5 separate regions of the Homo sapiens genome follow, and all the other regions are linked to region 4. The links are contacts of gene promoters, found by promoter capture Hi-C in human tissues and cell types (Jung and others, 2019). All regions are on one chromosome and are shown on one strand. Each heading gives the region's core, a stretch centred on a gene start or on the middle of the fragment in contact. The rest is flanking DNA. Distances are from core to core; before and after follow the strand shown. Region 1 overlaps TJP2 (tight junction protein 2). Region 2 overlaps TJP2 (tight junction protein 2). Region 3 overlaps TJP2 (tight junction protein 2). Region 4 holds the start of FXN (frataxin). Region 5 overlaps TJP2 (tight junction protein 2).

The links. Contacts are between HindIII fragments. The study calls those that stand out against the background at their distance.
Region 1: a fragment that was not itself captured here is called in contact with the fragment with the promoter of FXN in region 4 in 2 of the 25 tissues and cell types used here (heart right ventricle and stomach).
Region 2: a contact is called between a fragment that was not itself captured here and the fragment with the promoter of FXN in region 4, in 2 of the 25 tissues and cell types used here (lymphoblastoid cells and mesenchymal stem cells).
Region 3: a fragment that was not itself captured here is called in contact with the fragment with the promoter of FXN in region 4 in 1 of the 25 tissues and cell types used here (hippocampus).
Region 5: a contact is called between a fragment that was not itself captured here and the fragment with the promoter of FXN in region 4, in 3 of the 25 tissues and cell types used here (bladder, dorsolateral prefrontal cortex and hippocampus).

What each region holds. Positions count from the first base shown.
Region 1 is chr9:69,223,775-69,227,500 of GRCh38, reverse strand. It overlaps TJP2 (tight junction protein 2), which reads right to left. Exons shown (of 23, transcript NM_004817.4): 6 at 2,094-2,197; 7 at 1,326-1,479. Among named protein-coding and RNA genes, the nearest start is that of TJP2, 51 kb to the right of the region's middle. The HindIII fragment of the contact is 4,011 bases long and covers 1-3,534 here.
Region 2 is chr9:69,242,232-69,246,163 of GRCh38, reverse strand. The region is part of intron 17 of TJP2 (tight junction protein 2); the gene reads right to left. Among named protein-coding and RNA genes, the nearest start is that of BANCR, 63 kb to the left of the region's middle. RefSeq lists enhancers at 3,383-3,883, 3,884-3,932. The HindIII fragment of the contact is 4,818 bases long and covers 1-3,932 here.
Region 3 is chr9:69,204,138-69,208,086 of GRCh38, reverse strand. All of the region lies in intron 1 of TJP2 (tight junction protein 2), which reads right to left. Among named protein-coding and RNA genes, the nearest start is that of TJP2, 32 kb to the right of the region's middle. RefSeq lists a silencer at 3,320-3,614. The HindIII fragment of the contact is 8,597 bases long and covers 1-3,949 here.
Region 4 is chr9:69,033,291-69,037,070 of GRCh38, reverse strand. It overlaps FXN (frataxin), which reads right to left and starts at 1,319. Exons shown (of 5, transcript NM_000144.5): 1 at 1,124-1,319. The coding sequence starts at 1,288. RefSeq lists silencers at 84-378, 961-1,430 and an enhancer at 751-800. The HindIII fragment of the contact is 19,714 bases long and covers 1-3,780 here.
Region 5 is chr9:69,185,684-69,189,157 of GRCh38, reverse strand. The region is part of intron 1 of TJP2 (tight junction protein 2); the gene reads right to left. Among named protein-coding and RNA genes, the nearest start is that of TJP2, 13 kb to the right of the region's middle. The HindIII fragment of the contact is 3,810 bases long and covers 1-3,168 here.

The DNA.
Region 1 (3,726 bases), core at 280-2,779, 190 kb before region 4:
AAAATTCTATTATTGGATCATAGATGTATACACTAATTCTTCCCAAGCAGCCCAATGCTTCTCAAACTTTAAGGTGCATACAAATCTTGTTAGGATGCAGTTGTTGTGGGGCAGTTGAGGGGAGACTGAGATTCTGCAATTCTATCCAGTTACCTGATTATGCAGATGCTATTGGGGTCAGGGGTTGGGGGATGAGGACCACATACTGAGTAGCAAGGAAATAAACTGCAAACCCCCTAACATGCTGGCATTATTTCTCATGCTCCTTTTGTTTTCCTGCACTGCACCCGTAACAGTCATCAACAACTTCTGATACACTGGAAAGTGAATTAAGTTTTAAGGTTTTACAAAGAAATTCCTTTAAAAAAAAAAATCAACAAAAGTCTGCTTTACAACTTCGTAACTTAATATTTTCTAAACTTCTCTGCATAAAAGCAACAGTAGATGGTTCAGTAGAATATACTGTGATTAACTATTTTTATTGGCAATTTTTACAAGGTTAAAATGTTATCCTATGTATAATTCATATTCAAATAATGAATATAGCTCTTTAAAAGGGAAGAGGTGATGCAGACTGCTAATTAATGAATGCCACAATATTAGCCATTTTGATTCTTTTTGAGCATCTACTTGTTTTAGCTATCCTCCAAATTGTCTTCTCTATTAGAGATATTAATAGCCACTTTTAAAGAATGAGCAATTAAGGCTGGGCCTGGTGGCTCACGCCTGTAATCCCAGCACTTTGGGAGGACAAGACGGGCAGATCACGAGGTCAGGAGTTCAAGACCAGCCTGGCCAACATGGTGAAACCCCGTCTCTACTAAAAATACAAAAATTAGCCAGGTGTGGTGGCAGGCGCCCATAATCCCAGCTACTCAGGAGGCTGAGGCAGAAGGATCACTTGAACCTGGGAGGCAGAGGTTGCAGTGAGCCAAGATTGTACCACTGCACTCCAGCTTGGGCAACAGAGGGAAACTCTGTCTCAAAAAAAAACAATAAGCAATTAGCAAATATATAAATGATATGGTTAGTTCTTTGAACCACTCAAACACACATTTTTTTACTGACAAGTTTTGCTTTCAATTGCCTAATTAATAGTTCTCTGAGAGTTCGCAAATGCACCAGAATTTTGTATTGGAAACCTAATTTCAATAGGCACTTTAATAAGCAAATAACAACCAACCAGTGACCTTTGGAGATTAAGGTTTCAAGGGGTCTTTCCTTAGAAATTTAACTTCCAGCTGGATAGCTACACTAAATAGAAGAATGGGGAAGCAACAGCCTTCCTTACTTCCAGCTAAGCTCACAGCCTCCTCTTCCTTTACCTTCTATTTCTGAGTCACTGTCATTTAATGACGGGATGTTGATGAGGGTCTGCTGGCTGTCTCTCAACACCACTAGCTGTAGTTTTCCTCTTGACTTTTCTATCAATTTTCGAGCATCCGTTAAAGACATGTTCTCAGTTACAGTCCCATTGATCTGTGTTTATAAAAAATGGTAATGTTAAATGCAATAAAATTATTCACAGTAGAAAATTCATATTTTCCCCTTCTAAAAATGTAAAGGCTTTGCTCAGATATTCAAACAGATATTGGCTTTAGGATGACTCAATAAAAATGAATTGTCGTTTAAATTAAATATAATCCTGCATGCCTGGATCCCAAATACAGGTGTAAGTTACTCTGCTAATTTATTTAACTTCCAAGCTCAAGACAACGGTTTGGTTTACTACTGGAACGTGTTTCCTGACTGGAGAGGTTTACAAGACCTATTAAATATTCAGCATTCATATATCACCAACTTTCCTTCTCATCTTTCCTTAGTTTAGGGAATAGGGATCTAAACTTTAAACAGGAAAGAAGAAAATATTCATGGAGTTTTTTTGTTTTTGTTTTCTAAACTGACATTAAACTGTTACGACCCTCAATGTCTGGTTTTTCTGATAAAAATCGTCTCATTATGCTGCTCTTGCCACCTCTGTCTTACCACTGACTCTCACTGGATCTAAGTCTCACTGTGTGGGTGCTGAATGTGGACATGCAGGCGATGAACGGCAGTATGCACACTACCGTTCTCTGCCCCCATCTACCCACCTTGAGAATTATGTCTCCTTCGTGAAGGTTGCCATCTTTAGTTGCCAGACCCGTTCGGGTCATTTCCTTTACGAAGATCTGACTCCCAAGCCGGAGACCATACTCTAGGAGACAAACACATAAACATACACGTATGTTATCAATTTGTTCAAAAAACTTAGTCTGGTTTATAGGACTATTTTAAAATATGTATTAAAAAGTTAATTTTGTATATGGGAAATTCTGTAAGATGACTGGCCTGAACTCTTCAAAAAAGTCAATGCCATAAAAAACAAAAAAGGTAGAGAAACTGTTCCAGATTAAAAGTTACATAAAAACCAAATGCAATGCATGAACTACCATAGGTCCCTGATCCAGTGGAGGGTGGGGGAAGAATGAGTTACATCATTTGGAGCAATCTGAAAATGAACTATAATATATGAAAGGGATATTAATGTTAATCTTCTTAAGTGTTATAATGGTATTACGGTGACTGATGTAGGAGAATGTTCTTATCTTTGGAAGATACCTCTGAAATATTTATGGGTAATGGTGAGTTGCCTGCAACTTACTTAAATAGTACCAAAAAACCCACTGAGAGAGGTAACAGGAAGGGTGATGGAGTAGAAGGAAAGAAAAAAAAAGGAGGAGGAAAAAGAAAGTGTGGCAAAATGTTAACAACTGGTAAAACTAGATGAAGGTTATATGTTTATTTGCTATAAAATTAACATTTTCTTTTTCTTTCTTTTTTTGAGACAGAATCTTGCTTTGTCACCCAGGCTGGAGTGCAGGGGCATGATCTCAGCTCACTGCAACCTCTGCCTCCCAGGTTCAAGTGATTCTCCTGCCTCAGCCTCTCAAGTAGCTGGGATTACAGGTGCCCACCACCATGCCCAGCTAATTGTTGTATTTTAGTAGAGACAGGGTTTCACCATGTAGGCCAGGCTAGTCTCGAACTCCTGACCTCAGGTGATCCACCCGCCTCGGCCTCCCAAAGTGCTAGGATTACAGGTGTGAGCCACTGCGCCTGGCCAAATTAACACTTTTCAAATAAAATGTTGGGGAGAAAAAAAAACAATTCAGCACACCTTAATAGGCATGTTCTGCTGACAATGAGGCTGTCTACAGGAAGGCACTGCAAAAAATCTAGCATTTTAGATTATATGAAGCTTGGCATTGAAAGGAATTCAGTGGGTGAAGAAAAGGGGTAAAGAAGTCAGGCAAAGTAATTAATAAAGCATTCAACTAAAACCAGCATAGCTTTGGGAGTTTATGGACTCTGAATTGCTATCAAAAACAAAAACATTGTAATTACTAAGTTATGCATATTTTTAAATACTTTCAATGCTACTTAAGACTCTTCTGGTTTTACTTAATAAACTTGTAAAAATACATTATTTTAAGAATAACTGTTCACATTTTAGGAAACTACCACAACAGAGCAGGTTTTAAAACAGGCACAAAATTTTTTATTATTGTTCAAACTAAAAATCTTATAATTACAAAACAAAGTAACTTTCCACAATTCAGGAAAGGTATGAAGTCAATTTTAAAATAAGTTTTAAATGATTTACGGTAAACTTGTCAGCCAGATCTTACCACAAAGATTAGAAGTGTTGTGGCCCATGCCCTAGTCCTTTAGGAAGCTGATAGT
Region 2 (3,932 bases), core at 814-3,313, 210 kb before region 4:
TATTTGCATATGACTTATGTACATCCTCTTATATACTTTAAATCATCTCTGGATTACTTATAATTCCTAATACAATGTAAATGCTACGCAAATCGTTGTTATACTATATTGTTTAGGGAATAATGACAAGAAAAAAACCCTGCACGTTTAGATGTAACCATCCATTTTACCCCTCAAATATTTCCTATACACGGCTAGTTGAATTCATGAATGTGGAAACCACAGACATGGAGAGCTGACTGTATATCACTTTGATAGACTTACACATTTTAGAATATACATATAGATTAAACAAACCCAACCAGTGTGTATTCAAAGAATATACATTTTCTACTCAGAACAAAGTATATCTTACATAATAGCACTTACTATGCATCAACCAGTTACTTTCCAAGTACCTTACCTGGATTAGCTCATTTCACGACTACACAAACTTTGCAAGGTAGGTGTTGCTATGATGCCCATCTTATAGATGAGAAACCAAGGTAAAGTAGTGAAATTAACTAGCCCAAGGCCACACACCAAGCAAGTGTGAAGCTTGGATGCAAGCTCAGAAAACTGCTTTCAGAGCCTATGGTCTCAGCCACCACACTACATGGCCCATCTAAAAACAGAAATTTAGAGCACAGATATAAAATACCAACAAAGTACAACATATGTCATTTCTTCAGCAATATGTATTATGGACCTAATGGAGATAAATTAGACAAGCAAGTTAGTCCAAAATAACAAATTGTACCCCTAAAATTATCAGACTGCAGGTAAATTAGGATTTCTTTTAAACTACATTGCCATGGCCTCTTATTGTACTATCACTTCTAAAGCCAAAAAGAACCATTAAGCAAATTTTGTAAGCAATGATGCTTCAGGTTTTCCTCCAAGTAACATAGCTTTCTTCTGTTTAAGAAGTTCTAACAGTGACCTTAGAAAATCCTGAATGAGCTTACAATTTCCTTGGTTATTAATTATTTACAGCACTGAAATAAACTGATCCATTAGACAACCCGAAGAAAATTAACTTTGATTCCACGGACTTCTCTATTCCTATTATGGTACTCTGCAAAGATTACTGTGCTCATCTCATAGCTAAAATATGATACTTAAAAATAGAAGTGAGATTTTGTACCCCAGAGACAAAATGAGTGATTTACACTAAATATATACAAAATGTTAAGCAGTCTTTTAAAGCTTTATGTTGCAGCTGTCTGAGATAAGTATGGTCTGCATTCATCATAAAGAAAACCTAAAGTTAAAACGGCATTTTGTGAGATGCAGGAAATATGTTCTTGCCCCTTGATAAAATAAAGAAAATCACAAAAGCTCTTACTGAATTCACATTAACAGTCAAGTTTATGAATAAAAATTGAGAGCTTCACAGTAGCTAACTTCCTAAGCTGCATATAAAAGTAACATCCAACTCATGCACTTGACCTCTTTTTAACAGGCAGGTGCACAGACATGAAGCTGCCTTCCCTTGACTCTGCTGAATTAAGTACCTTTAGCTTATTATTGGATTCTCTCATTCCGCTTCTCAGATTCTTTGCCTTAGAGCAATAGTAGTTAATTATCTGTTGCTCCTAACCTCTGGGTTATGCCTATATCCCCTTGGATAGACTTACTCTATCTTTTGAGCTCAAGAAAGTGAAATACTGAAAGGATGCTGACTCAGCCACTGCCTTAGTTGGGAATACTGAGGTTCTGAGGGCACGTGTGCCCAGCCCTGACATGTATGGTCAGTGCTACCTCCCCCTCCCCAGCCAAGGAGGTTTGGAAGCACCAAGAGCGACAGCAAAAGGTAACATCTAAGACTAGAGGGTTTAGGGAAAGGGAGAAATGGGGAATGACTGCTAATGGGTATGGGGTATCTTTTGGGGATGATAAAAATGTTCTAAGATTGATTGGTTGTGATGACAGCTGTACAACTCTGAATATACTAAAGCCCACTGAATTGCATACTTTTTTTTTTTTTTTTTTTTTTTCCTGAGACAGGGTCTCATTGTCGCCCAGGCTGGAGTGCTGTAGTGCAATCTCGGCTCACTGCAACCTCCAGCTCCCGGGCTTAAGTGATCCTCCCACCTCAGCCTCCCAAGTAGCTGGGACTACCGGCACCCACCACCACACCCAGCTAATTTTTTTATTTTTAATAGAGACAGGGTTTCATCATGTTGCCCAGGCTGGTCTCAAACTCCTGAGCTCAAGTGACCTGCCCACCTTGGCCTCCCAATGTGCTGGGATTTACAGGCGTGAGCCACCATGCCCAGCTGAACTATATACTTTCAATGGGTGGATTATATGGTATCTAAGTCAAAACTCAATAAAGCTTTTCACGTGGCTCGGTTAACAGTGGCACGCTAGACCCCCTCTAAATGGGCATGCAACAGCAAAGGTATCCAGCTAGGGGGCCCAGCATCTTCCTTCTCTTTTCTGTGGTCAACTAGCTAGTCTATATAATCCTTTGAGAAATCAGGAATTAAAATTCTATAATTAGCATAAAAGGGTAGCCCCACTTGGGTCTCTAAATCCATAAGTCAACTTAAATGATCTTCGAACCATGCACTGAGTACTTTGAAGATTCCAAGAAAACATGTAATTCAAAGTTTGTTTTTTAAAAATAAAAATTTGTGATATGCAAATGTATTTTATAGAAAATTTTTAAAAATTGGTAGTAGGGGAGGCAAACCTAACACTTAAACTTATTATGACAAGTCAACTTGCCTTTGGGCAAATCTCAGAATAAAGCTTCTCTTGTTTAACTGAGAAGTACTGTAAGACTTGTAAGGAGAACTATTTTCATATTGTCATAATTAAATACTCGTGAGGAAGAGGAGCTTTCTTATTACTTTGCAAAAAGGAAAACAAAAGGATATTGAGCCTAAAGAGACTAATGCAACATAAAGCTTGACTTCAAATTACTGTGTTCATCAAAGCACTCTATTATTCTCAACTACTAACTCACAAAAATGCCATACACTTAAAATCATTTTAAAAGCCTACAAAATAGGCCAGGCACGGTGGCTCATGCCTGTAATCCCAGCATTTTAGGAGGCCAACACGGGCAGATTGCTTGAGCCCAGGGGTTTGAGACCAGCTTGGGCAACATGGGTAAACCCTGTTGCCAGAAAAAATACAAAAATTACCCAGGCATGGTGGTGTGTGCCTGTAGTCCCAGCTACTGGGGAGGCTGAGGAGGGAAGGTGCCTTGAGCCCAGGAAGCAGAGGTTGCAGTGAACCGAGATCGTGCCACTGCACTCTAGCTTGGGCGACAGAGGGAGACTATGTCTCAAAAACAAACAAAAACTATAAAATACTAATTCTGCCTGAAGATTCTACTGCTCAAATGTAAAGACTAGTGTTTCTGGACATGGCACACAGCCTCAAGTCAAAACCTGGTCAAGCTAAGAGGGACGAGGGTGAGATGGGGAATAAAAGCAATTATTAGTGCAGTCATCCACACAGCTGTAGGGAGTCAAACTTTGAAGTCTGGAAGAGTACTGTAAAAGACCACTTGCTAGAAAATTGGAGCTTGCTGGTCAAAGTTGCTGCACACCCTGCACCATCTATCCTGAAGACTGTACAATTCTACATAAGAGATTGGCAATTTCTGGTGAGATAAGATCACTTCAATGTTTTAGATGAAACTCAATGCTTACAGTGTGTGCTTCCATTCCAATCTCTGACTTGAGTTATTCTAAAACTTTCAACTTCCTGATGAGTTTAGGCAAGAAATGGCTTGGTGTGCCAGGGGCAGTTCTAATGTAAGTTACAAACATTTATGCCTTGCCCATGTGCTAGTCCTGATGCTGGCCTCAGGCACACAACGCTGGGAAATGTTCAGGCTCTGCCTTCAAGGATCTTGAAATCCATCTATGGAGCTAACAGAGGTGTTGCTAACCCCTTCTACACACATGGACCCCTCTAGATTCTTACTCACA
Region 3 (3,949 bases), core at 1,379-3,878, 170 kb before region 4:
CTCATTTGTTCATTTATGCAAAAACATTTATTAAGCATCCACCTTCTGCCAAGCAAGTGGTTTGTGGCACTTCAGAGACATCAGTGAATAAAATCGCCAAAGCCCTTGGGCAGCTTACCAACTAACTACAAGTGTACCCAAAGAGCAAACTACTGAGTGTCTTTCCTGCCTCATTTATATAATTTTTCAGAAACACAGAGCACCCCACATAATCATCCTTATTCCTCAGAACATCAGCTCTAGGAACATCCCTGGGCACAGGCTGCCAGGGTGCAGCAGCTTAGCTGAGAGCTGTGGTCCTGACATTCAAACTAGGCCACCGGGCTCTGGTCCCACCCACCACCTTGTGCTTGGCTATGCGCAGATCAGACTTGCTAGCAATATCTGACCTCTCTCTGAATGACAGCAGGTAGCTGCTTAGCACCAGGGGGAGCTTTACAGGCAGGCCCATAGAAAGAGCACGCATATATCAGAATTAAAGGTATGCACATTCCACGACCCAGTGATTCCTCTACCTGGGCAGAGGCACCGGGAGAACCGTGTGACTAAATGCACAAGGACACATGTATAGAGTATTCACAGCAGCAATGTTCCCAACAGCCAAAACTTGGAAAATATCCCAGTATCTCTCAAGGGCAGGATGGACAAATTGATACATTATTAAAATACAATGTTTTACTGCAATGAAGACGAACAAACCAGTCACATAGACCACCACAAAAGGGATGCATCTCAAACATAAAGTTGAGCAAAAAAACACCCCAGAAGGATTTGTAGAGTGTGATACCATTTTTATATAGCTCAAAAAACAATGTTTTACAACAACTTGAATATACTTAACACTACTGAACTGTACATTTACAAATGGTACAGACAGTAAATTTTGGTATGCGTTTTTCACTATAGTAAAAAATTGCCAACAAAATTAATCTATTGTTTAGGGGCGTGTGTGTGTGTACGCACGCATGCAGTGGAAATATAAAGAAAAAGCAAGGAAATGAAAAACATAACATTCAGGATGAGGTGACCTGGGCAGGAGGCAGAGTATGGTGGGAGGTACACAAATTTCCTTCGTGTTTTGTCTTGGTGATGGTCTGCAGATATGTGTAATGGGCTCATGGCATTTGTTTAATTATTATGCTCCATGATTTAGATATTTAATTCTTTTATGGTACCAAACATTTCATAAGTTTAAAAAATAGGGAGATGAGGCCGGGCGCGATGGCTCGCGCCTGTAATCCCAGCACTTTGGGAGGCCGAGGCGGGTGGATCACGAGGTCAGGAGATCAAGACCATACTGACTAACATGGTTAAACCCCATCTCTACTAAAAATACAAAAAATTAGCCAGGTGTGGTGGCAGGCACCTGTAGTCCCAGCTACTCGGGAGGCTGAGGCAGGAGAATGGCTCGAACCCGGGAGGTGGAGCTTGCAGTGAGCCGAAATCGCGCCACTGCACTCCAGCCTGGGCAACAGAGCAAGACTCCGTCTCAAAAAGAAATAAAAAAATTAAATAAATAAATAAATAAATAAAAAATAGGGAGATGAGTGGGTGAACACCAAAATGAATACTGACTCCTGGTGAAGGATCTAATACCCAAGAGGTACGAGTATATTTAACAGCAAATTTTTCAATGCAGTTAGAATTTTGCAAAGTGAAGAGGGGATAATAATTTCAACTGGAAGGAGGGCGAGTTGAAGGATGGTACCAGTAATTTGAAAGGGGCAAAGAGGGTAAAGCAAGGCAGGTGCGGTGGGCAGAGTGGGGACGCAGGTTAGGTCTGGGGAGTTGTGGGGGGAGGTGTATGCAGAAAACGCCAAGTCACCTTTTTAATCCAAGTGTCAACATTCTATCCATTAGGAGGATCTTCAATGTGCTTTCATCATCTTTCCTTATCACTTTTACTTTTCACGTAAGTAGTGTTCATGACAACCCCCTTTATATCTAACAGGTCATTCTTAAGACCTCATGGAAAGTTAAAAGTGAGCTAACTTTTCTACCATAAACAAAAAACTTAATGCATTAACAGTAAGGTTTTTGTGTGACAAAAGAAGAGAAAGGAACTAAGGCAAATAGTTACTTATTGTGTTTTTTTTTAATCTTTTTATAAAGCTTTTTTCCTTTGAAAAATCTTGGCCAGATAGGTAAAAATCCTATATATTTTACATAAAGAATGTAGAAACATGTTAAAAGCCAACCCCAAAACAGATACCGAAGTGTTCACTGCCCAAAGTCCCCCTGAACAGGCGGCTTTTAGATTCTGTATCCACAGACTGCTGCTGCCCAGTGATGGAGGTCAAAGCTAAAACCAAAGATTAATCGCAAGCTGTCCACGTAAGGGACATGCTTCATAAAAGTCTCAAGCCATCAAAGTAAACACTCACACATGTTCAAACTGTAAGAGGAAAAAAGAACATGTGAAAAACACTTTTTCTTCTAAGTTAGAAGCCTAGACATAATAAGAATATAGATTTCTGCAGTGTAAGAAAGCAAAAAGTTTTATCCCAAAACAAGAAATTCTCAAACATGAACAAACACAAAAGCCAGTATGTTAAGCTCTACCCAGGAAGCAAAACCATTACAGATTCCTAGCACATGGAAAACAGCAGCCTTTGATCCACAGATCCAGTAAGAGGCTATCAGTTTCACATAGATCTGCTAAAATTAATACAAGTATTTTTAAAAACCCACCAGTGACTACAACCTACAATCTCACAATTTGTTGCTGAAAGATGCCAGAAGCACAAATCAATCTGAGGATAAAGGACTCACTGTGAGAATGGTTTTGCTTCCCTCCCCTTCCCATGAAGAAAGGTTGGGGAAAACAAGGGGAGAGCTTGCAGAGGGACTCACACGGCCTTTCCATCTCCTCAACTTTTTAACAGCCTGGATCCACATCCTATGTAGGGCTTGAGCAGTCTTCATGGTCTCTGGAGATGCATGGGCCAGGCCACCGCCTACATTCCGGGCTGCTCACCCATTTCCATCACTCCATGTGGTTACGTAAGGCGGATACAATAGTGGCCCACATTTCCAGCAAATCCTGTTGTCATCTCACACAGTGACACATCCATATGGCAGGGATGCCAAACGCTTTGAAAAGCACTACTTATGAGCAAAAAAGAAAGCAGTTTGGATTTGCACCACTTCAACAGCTTTCTTTCTCTCCCTCTCTCTCCCTTGCCAGGGAACTAGAGCATCCGAGTAGATATTTCTTTTAAGCACATAAAATGATTCAGCATCTAAGTTGACAGAATTGAGTAAATGAGACACTTTAGAGCAACATTATGGAAAAGAATATTTAGAGAAGTATTTATACAGTATAGACCCTCTGATACACACACACACACGCCAGCTAGAAATAAACTAGCAATGTTTCAGGTCAACTGAATGGCTAATGTTACACAGAAATTAAAAAGCATGAAAAGAAAATGTTTTACGTCCTTGGAGATAACAAGGGGAAGATAAGACTCATTTGGTGCTGCTCAGAGACAACTCAGGGACAGAATGCTTGCTCAGCAAAGTTCCACTGTCTAACCTTTTTGTAAACTTAGCAGATAAAAGAATAACAAAGAGCCCTGCCGTCTGTTCTTTGTCTTTACCACTTGGGGAGAAGGGAGGGGTGGAGAAGCAAATTTTAGGTTTCTGAACATCTAGCAAAGATTTTATGGGATGCCTGGGGCTTGGGAGCTGGGGTTAGGAATTCAGAAGTCTGGTCTTGGGGAGCCTCTGGCCAATTCTTGCTACCATAGTGTATGTTATATGCCAATGGGCTTGGCCAAACAGCGTGCAAATGTAAAGTGTGCCATTTGATTTGAGGCTGAGATGTATATAAATCTGGACCATGAGATGGCCACCATCTAGGAAACAAGGAGAAGCAGAGCCAAGAAAGTGATTTTTAAAGTCACAAGATCTGGAGTGAGATCCTTGTCCTGTCACTTAGCTGTGG
Region 4 (3,780 bases), core at 70-2,569:
TGGGCCAAATAACACGTGTGGGAAGTTCAAGCCTAAAGTACAAACTCCGGAGAGCAACACAAATATGGCTTGGACGTGGCCTGCCTCTTTCATCTCCCCTAATACATGCGGCGTACCAGCCACTCTGAAGGGATCCCCTTCCGCCTTCCTGGCCTTTGCCCAGACGGTTCCCTCCTCGTGAAACACCCTCTACCACTTCCTTGGCATCTTCAAGACCCTCATTAAATACCATGTCCTCCCCTTGAGGAATCTTCCTCATCCCCACAGCCATTCTTTGGGTTTCCTCCTTTCAAGCCGTGGCGTAACTGGGTCAGATATTTCTTTGTACCCCCCAAAGGAAGAAAGGGGAACTAATTTGAAGTTCTGAAGACTTTATCTATGTTATTCCCATTTAATCCTCACACCAGGTCCGCAAAATGGGCGTCACCTTTATCTTCTCCCTACAGAAAACAAAGCCACGTCTCAGAGAGGTTAGGGGAATCCCCCAAGGTCACACAGCTCTGCGGAGTGGGGCAGAATCTGGAATAAAGGTCGGGTCAGTTTCCAAAAGCCAGGGCCCCTGCTGCTCTAGCTATTCTGCAGCTCTGAAAGTTTCACCTCGTTCCAGGAAAGCATTTCGTTCAAAAAAATCCAGCCTTGAAAATATTAGGTGTGCGCGCGCCCGTGCGCGCAAACACACACACACAACACACACGCTATATACAGATACACACAGACACACACATTATGTGTATGTATATACTAGCAGATACCATCTATTAATATTACTGAAACAAGTTATCGCAGAGAAGTGACAAGCATGGAGACAGCCGCACACCCCTCGGAACCGGTCCCCTCCACCAGCCTGCCCTGCCTTCGCCCGTGCCTTGACCCGCAGTCGCACCGCAGGACAAAATGTCCCCTTTTCCTTCGGAAAGCAGAAGCCAGTGTAAATGCAACCGGGAGAACCAGAGAAGGGAGTTGCAAGGCCGCTTCCGCCGGGCCGCCCTGAGAAGGAGCGGGGTGAGCTAGTCCAGCGCGCGTACCCGGAGCGACCCCGGCGTGCGCGGCGCCTCCCTGCGCAGGCGTGCGGCGTGCGGCCCGCGGCGTGCGGCCCGCGGCTGTTCCCGGCGCGGATACTTACTGCGCGGCGGGGCGTGCAGGTCGCATCGATGTCGGTGCGCAGGCCACGGCGGCCGCAGAGTGGGGCCAACTCTGCCGGCCGCGGGACCCGGGTGAGGGTCTGGGCCTGGGCTGGGCTGGGTGACGCCAGGAGGCCGGCTACTGCGCGGCGCCCGAGAGTCCACATGCTGCTCCGGGTCTGCCGCCCGCTCCGCCCTCCAGCGCTGGGTGCTGCGGCGACCCCTGGTGGCCACTGGCCGCAGGCACTCTTCTGTGGGGGAGCAGCTAGAGGTTAGACCTCAGGAAGAACTTCCCAGCTTAGCACTATTCGTGCATTTAACAAAAATGGAGAGCCTGCTTTGTGCAAAGCACGGAGTGCAACCAGGACCCCTGACCCAAGGGAGACTGCAGCCTGGTGGCCCGCCGCTTCTAAAATTCTAAACAGGAGGAACTTGGGAGCTGCTGTCTTGCTGGGAAGTGGGTGCATGCACAAATTGAGGCTGCTTGGCCGCCGGTATGGGTTTACAGCAGTTGGGTATGTGGGGCCAGGAGACGGATGCCTTGTGTAAATCTGTACTCTGCCCACTTCCTAGCTGTGTGACCAGAGGGCAAGTTAATTAACCTCTCTGTGCCTTGTTTATAAAATGCGTTTTATAAAAGTTCCTACTTCATAGGATTGTGGTAAGGATAAAATGAGTTAAGCCCTGTAAAGTTTTTTTTGGACAGGGCATGTTCCTGTTAAGTGCACAATAAATATTGTTAATAGATTTTATTGATTGATTGATTGATTGAGACGGAGTCTCGCTCTGTCGCCCAGGCTGGAGGGCAGTGGTGCGATCTCGGCTCACTGCAAGCTCTGCCTCCCGGTTTCACGCCATTCTCCTGCCTCAGCCTCCCGAGTAACTGGGACTACAGGCGCCCGCCACCATGCCTGGCTAATTTTTTGTATTTTTTTTTTTTTTTAGTAGAGACGGGTTTCACCGTGTTAGCCAGGATGGTCTCGATCTACTGACCTCGTGATCCACCCGCCTCATTTATTTGTTTGTTTGAGACAGAGTCTCACTCTGTTGCCCAGGCTGGAGTGCAGTGGTGTGGTCCTGGCTTACTGCAACTTCTCCCTCCCGGGCTCAAGCAGTCTTCCCATTTCAGCCTTCCAAGTAGCTGGGACTACAGGTGTGCACCACCACACCCAGCTAGTTTTTGTATTTTTTGTAGAAAGGGGGTTTCGCTATGTTGCCCAGGGTGGTCTTGAACTTCTAGGCTCAAACGATCTGCCCGCCTGGGCCTCACAAAGTGCTGAGACGACAGGCGTGAGCCACCGTGCCTTGCCTATTGTTGATAGATTTTAAAAGAGAATTTTATTTCTGTTACATATTACAAAGGGATGCAAATTGTGAAAGTTTTCTTCACATTTTATATATGCTTTAGAGGATGTCAAATGTGAGCCGAGTGTGGTAGTGCATGCCTGTGATCTCAGCTACTCAGGAGGCTGAGGCGGGAGGATCACTTGAGCCTGGGAGCTCAAGGCTGCAGTGAGCTATGATTGTGCCTGTGAATAGCCACAGCATTCCAGCCCGGCCATCATAGCAAGATACTGTCTTAAAAAAAAAGAAAATGTCAGTTGTGTACACTTTCCATGGCAGAGAAGATGGGAAGGTACTAAAGTTCTTCCAAAGCCACTTTGTGAATCGTGAAGAGAGACATGTTTACATACTTAGGATGCTAAATGACAAGTGTCAAGAGGAATGTAAACTAACAGGTGTGAGTGTTGAGTGGGAGATTTATATAGAGCTAGGGATGGGGGAATCAAGGAAGTATTCATGGAAGAAGTGGTGTTGGCACAGGGCCTTCAAAAATAGGGTGGAGGAGGTGGGATCTGATTGCCTATCAAAGAGGTGGTCCAGGGCATTCTGGATGAGAGACATCCTTCTGTGTTTAATTAATTCTAGGCAGCTGCTTAAATACTGTTATGTATATGCCAGGCCTGGAGAAATCATTTTCCCCCTGCAAAGTATCTGGAGATGCTTTTGATTGTCACAACAGGCAGCTGTGGGGTGGGTATGTTCTACTGGCATCTAGTAGGTAGAGGCCAGGGATGAAACATCCTGTGATGTGCAGGACAGCCCCCCACCTGTGCAACAAAGAACTATCCAGTCCAAAATTCTGCCAAGATTGAGAAGCCCTCCTTGAAACCATAAAGGGAGAGCCCATAGGCATCAAAGGGTAGTGTTTTCATTGCCAGCCATGGTCTCAGACTCTGCCACACCAACAGTGAGGCCCTTCCTCACATCATCAGAACTGCATTATATACTCAGAGAGAGAAAGCTGCATCATTAGTTATTATTATTATTATTATTTGAGACAGAGTCTTGCTTTGTTGCCCAGGCTGGAATGCAGTGGTGCCATCTCTGCTCACTGCAATCTCCACCTCCTGGGTTCAAGAGATTCTGTCTCAGCCTCCAGAGTAGCTGGGATTGCAGGTGCCCACCACCACGCCTGGCTAATTTTTGTATTTTTAGTAGAGATGGGGTTTCATCATGTTGGCCAGGCTGGTCTCGAACTCCTGACCTCAGGTGATCCGCCCGCCTCGGCCGCCCAAAGTGCTGAGATTACAGGCGTGAGCCACCGCACCCTGTGCTACATCATTATTAGCTAGCATGCTTAGCAAGTTCTGGCATA
Region 5 (3,474 bases), core at 14-2,513, 150 kb before region 4:
CCTATCTTCATTCCCAATCAAAATTATCTCTTTAACAATGTGTATGGTGTCAGTTAGATAGTAGAAGAAAGCTGACTAGTCTACTCCACATTAAAGTGTGGCTGTCTGATAGCCTAAAACCTCTTGGAGGTATTTGATGTTTTAGGGGATGTACTTTGACCCCAAGGTAACTTGCAATGGAATTCCAATCCTCAAGGCAAGCTCCCAAACACAGCATATCTAAGTTTTTCCTTCCAATTCTATAACCCAGGAGTTTGTAACCATAAGTTTTTCCTGATATTAATGATAGTTTTTGAGTGAAGGGGTTGATGGGACAACACAGCCATTTCTAACTGGAGGCTATGGACTTGAAGAAAGAATACTCTCACATGATAAGACATATTCTTAATATTTCTATAATAAAGTTGTGGTTTTAGCTAGCTGTATACATAATCACTTAATACCTCCCTGTAAGGCTGTGTCTTAGAGGCAACTTAGAGTCTTTGGGGTCTCATACAGTAATGAACACACAGAGGTCTCTGATGAATGAAGACATCTCTTGACAACATTGATATGTTACTTTTACTTAAGATTCTCTAGGAATACAAATATTTCTATGCACTTTCAGCGATGATGTTTAAACTCCTAATAATCAACACAGGGCCTTGAGCTTCTCCTATTTTCTTGCCACTGTGATTCTAAAAAGCAGAGACTGGTGGAATTGACAGAATCTACAGGTTTCAAATTCATCAAATGGACCTTGGCTCAAATCCCCTCCCTGTCACACAAGCCGTGTGACACTGGGCAATTTACTTAATGTTTCTGAGCCTCCGTTTCCCACCTATAAAATAGGGTTAACATTTACTCCTAGTTGACTGGGAAAAGTCAGTGAGATCTACACCAAGGGCCTACCACCACATCAGCCCTGTGATCTCCTTCCCCAGCTTTGCTAGAGAAAAGCTAACCAAACGTGGTCTTACAGCAAAACAAACCACACCTTACTTTGTCTCCTGGGCTCCGTCATGGTTAGGCATTCAACAGATCAGAAGTTCCACTTAACACATGGGAACTGAGCTGGAGTGAGCCAGCCCCCAACGCACCCCATAATATTTGTAGAACTCAAGAACACATTCTCAGAGCAGTTCTATAAGCTCCGCTAATGCACATTTTGGACTTCTCAGTCCAATAACACAAAGCCACAGGTTCAGAAGATCTCCATATTTCCTGCAAAGTGCTTTTTTCAGGAGGCAAGGAATACTCTAAGAAAAGGGAGAGAATACACCCCCAGTGTGATAAACGTGTGCTTATCACATTCCAGTCTTTTGAGACTCACCTTCTCCCTTCTCTTCCTTTCACCTTCCCCTATTTACTGAGCAACTACTCTACATCATGCCTACCTAGGAATGCAAAGAACCAGCCCTGCTCTCAAGAGCTCACAATCAACACCCCCTAATGTTAAAACTGACCACCCATCCAACAAGAGGTGGAATCCAGGCCAGTGGGTTTAGACCCTCACTGAAAACACACCGATCTTCTGAAAGGATAAACCCATGCACTGAAGCCTGTATCTAATTGAGGACATTTTTTACAGTTCACTGTTTCCCAGCATTCCTTTTGATTACGCTCGTCTCAGTCAAAAAGCTTATGTTGCTTATGTTGCTGAAAGATAAAGGACTATCCATGTAGCAGACTACACTAACATAGTCAGTATATCTCAAATTGGAACAGACGAAAGAGACAGAGAAACAGAAATGACAGCATCCCAGTTTTGACAACACAAATATAAAGCCAGCCGACTAAGTCTGGTAACAGTCTGGAGTGGTATGTTACAGCTGTTTTTTCAGGACAGTTCATTGCTGTGATATAATCCAATCAGGTCAACATTTATATTTAATCATCCAATCACACTCAAAGACAATTCAGAACAACAATGCAATTGTTATTTGGAGCTTACTACTAAGCCAAATGAGATGTTTTTCCCCCACATAGACATGTGTATGTTCCTTCTGTTCTATTAATAGGCGAGAGAGATTCTTTCAGGCCGTGCATGCTGACTGCAAATATTCTTTCTGTGGTAGTAAAAAGGAGCAAAAATATTGCCAATTTATGTTTCCTGGAAAAGTACATCACAAACATGATACTTAGAAGTTTAGCAATGCCTGAACTAATTTTATTTTTAGCCCAGTCCTGTTTCCCCACATTTCTCAGCAGAAACGCCCACAGAGAAATTTATCTTTAAAAACCAGGTGACTAACAAATTCCTGATTGTGGGGAGGTTCCAGGGACTAAGGAGGAAACTGATGGAATTTCAGCTGCCTCTCTTAACTTTCCCTAACTTTTGTGTAATATTAGTTCACTTGACAATTTATTTCTAAAGAATATTGTCAAATCAAAATACACGAAGCAACACCACGGGTCCCTTCCTCCAGCTGTAACACTACTAGCTGAAATATTTATAGATATTTGGGTCAGAAATACATACATTGATTTAAAACCAAGCATTTTTGCCAAAAGGAGTGAATTAGGTCAATGCCCATAAGAAGCTCCCCTCTGGCTCTATTTTCCAGTCTCCAAACAGTGAAGCCCTTTGTGCATTGTGTATCAGCCACTGTAAACTGTTTGGACATCCATTGTTAGCCCTGGCCGACTAAAAGTCTGGAGAAAAAGAGATAAAACCAAATTCTGTCAATATATTTCTAGCACATTCATTTACTAAGCAAGCTTTACAAACAGCCAGCTCACTTGAACTGCTAAACCAGTGGCTGAAATAGTCACTGGTTATACTTATCTTTCCATTTCGAATATTTGCCTTCCTTATCACTTCAAATTTCTCTGCAAGGAGCCTTCGGAAGTAGTACTACAGAAGTATGCCTAAAACGTTAATCAATACATCTTGACCACTCCATTTCTAGCAAATTACCTTAGGGCAGTAATAGTAGGGTCCCTGGAAAGTAAAATAGGTCTGGGTTATAGGAAAAAGTATTTGAAGGAGGAAAAAATTCACATTCTAAAGTTAAGAAAAACTCGGTTCTTTCCACATGTGACATCATTACAGACAGGCTGTTGCCAACATTGGTTCAAGATTTTTAAATGTCTTAAAACCACTACATTGGCCGGGCGCGGCGGCTCACACCTGTAATCCCAGCACTTTGGGAGGCCAAGGCAGGCGGATCATGAGGTCAGGAGATCGAGGCCATCCTGGCTAACACGGTGAAACCCCATCTCTACTAAAAAATACAAAAAATTAGCCAGGCGCAACCGAGACTCCGTCTCCAAAAAAAGAAAAAAAAAAAAAAAGGACTACATTATAGCTCATGTTTCATAAAATAAACTTATAATAGGACAGACACTTCTGCCAGCTGTTTTGGTAGACTACAGTGTTCCCTCCGCGAGAGATTTGAGGTACAAAATATGATAAAAATCTTCCATCTCATTTATCAGAACACAAAGGAAGCTAAAGACAGGGAAAAAAGTAACCCCATCTATCAGCCAGAT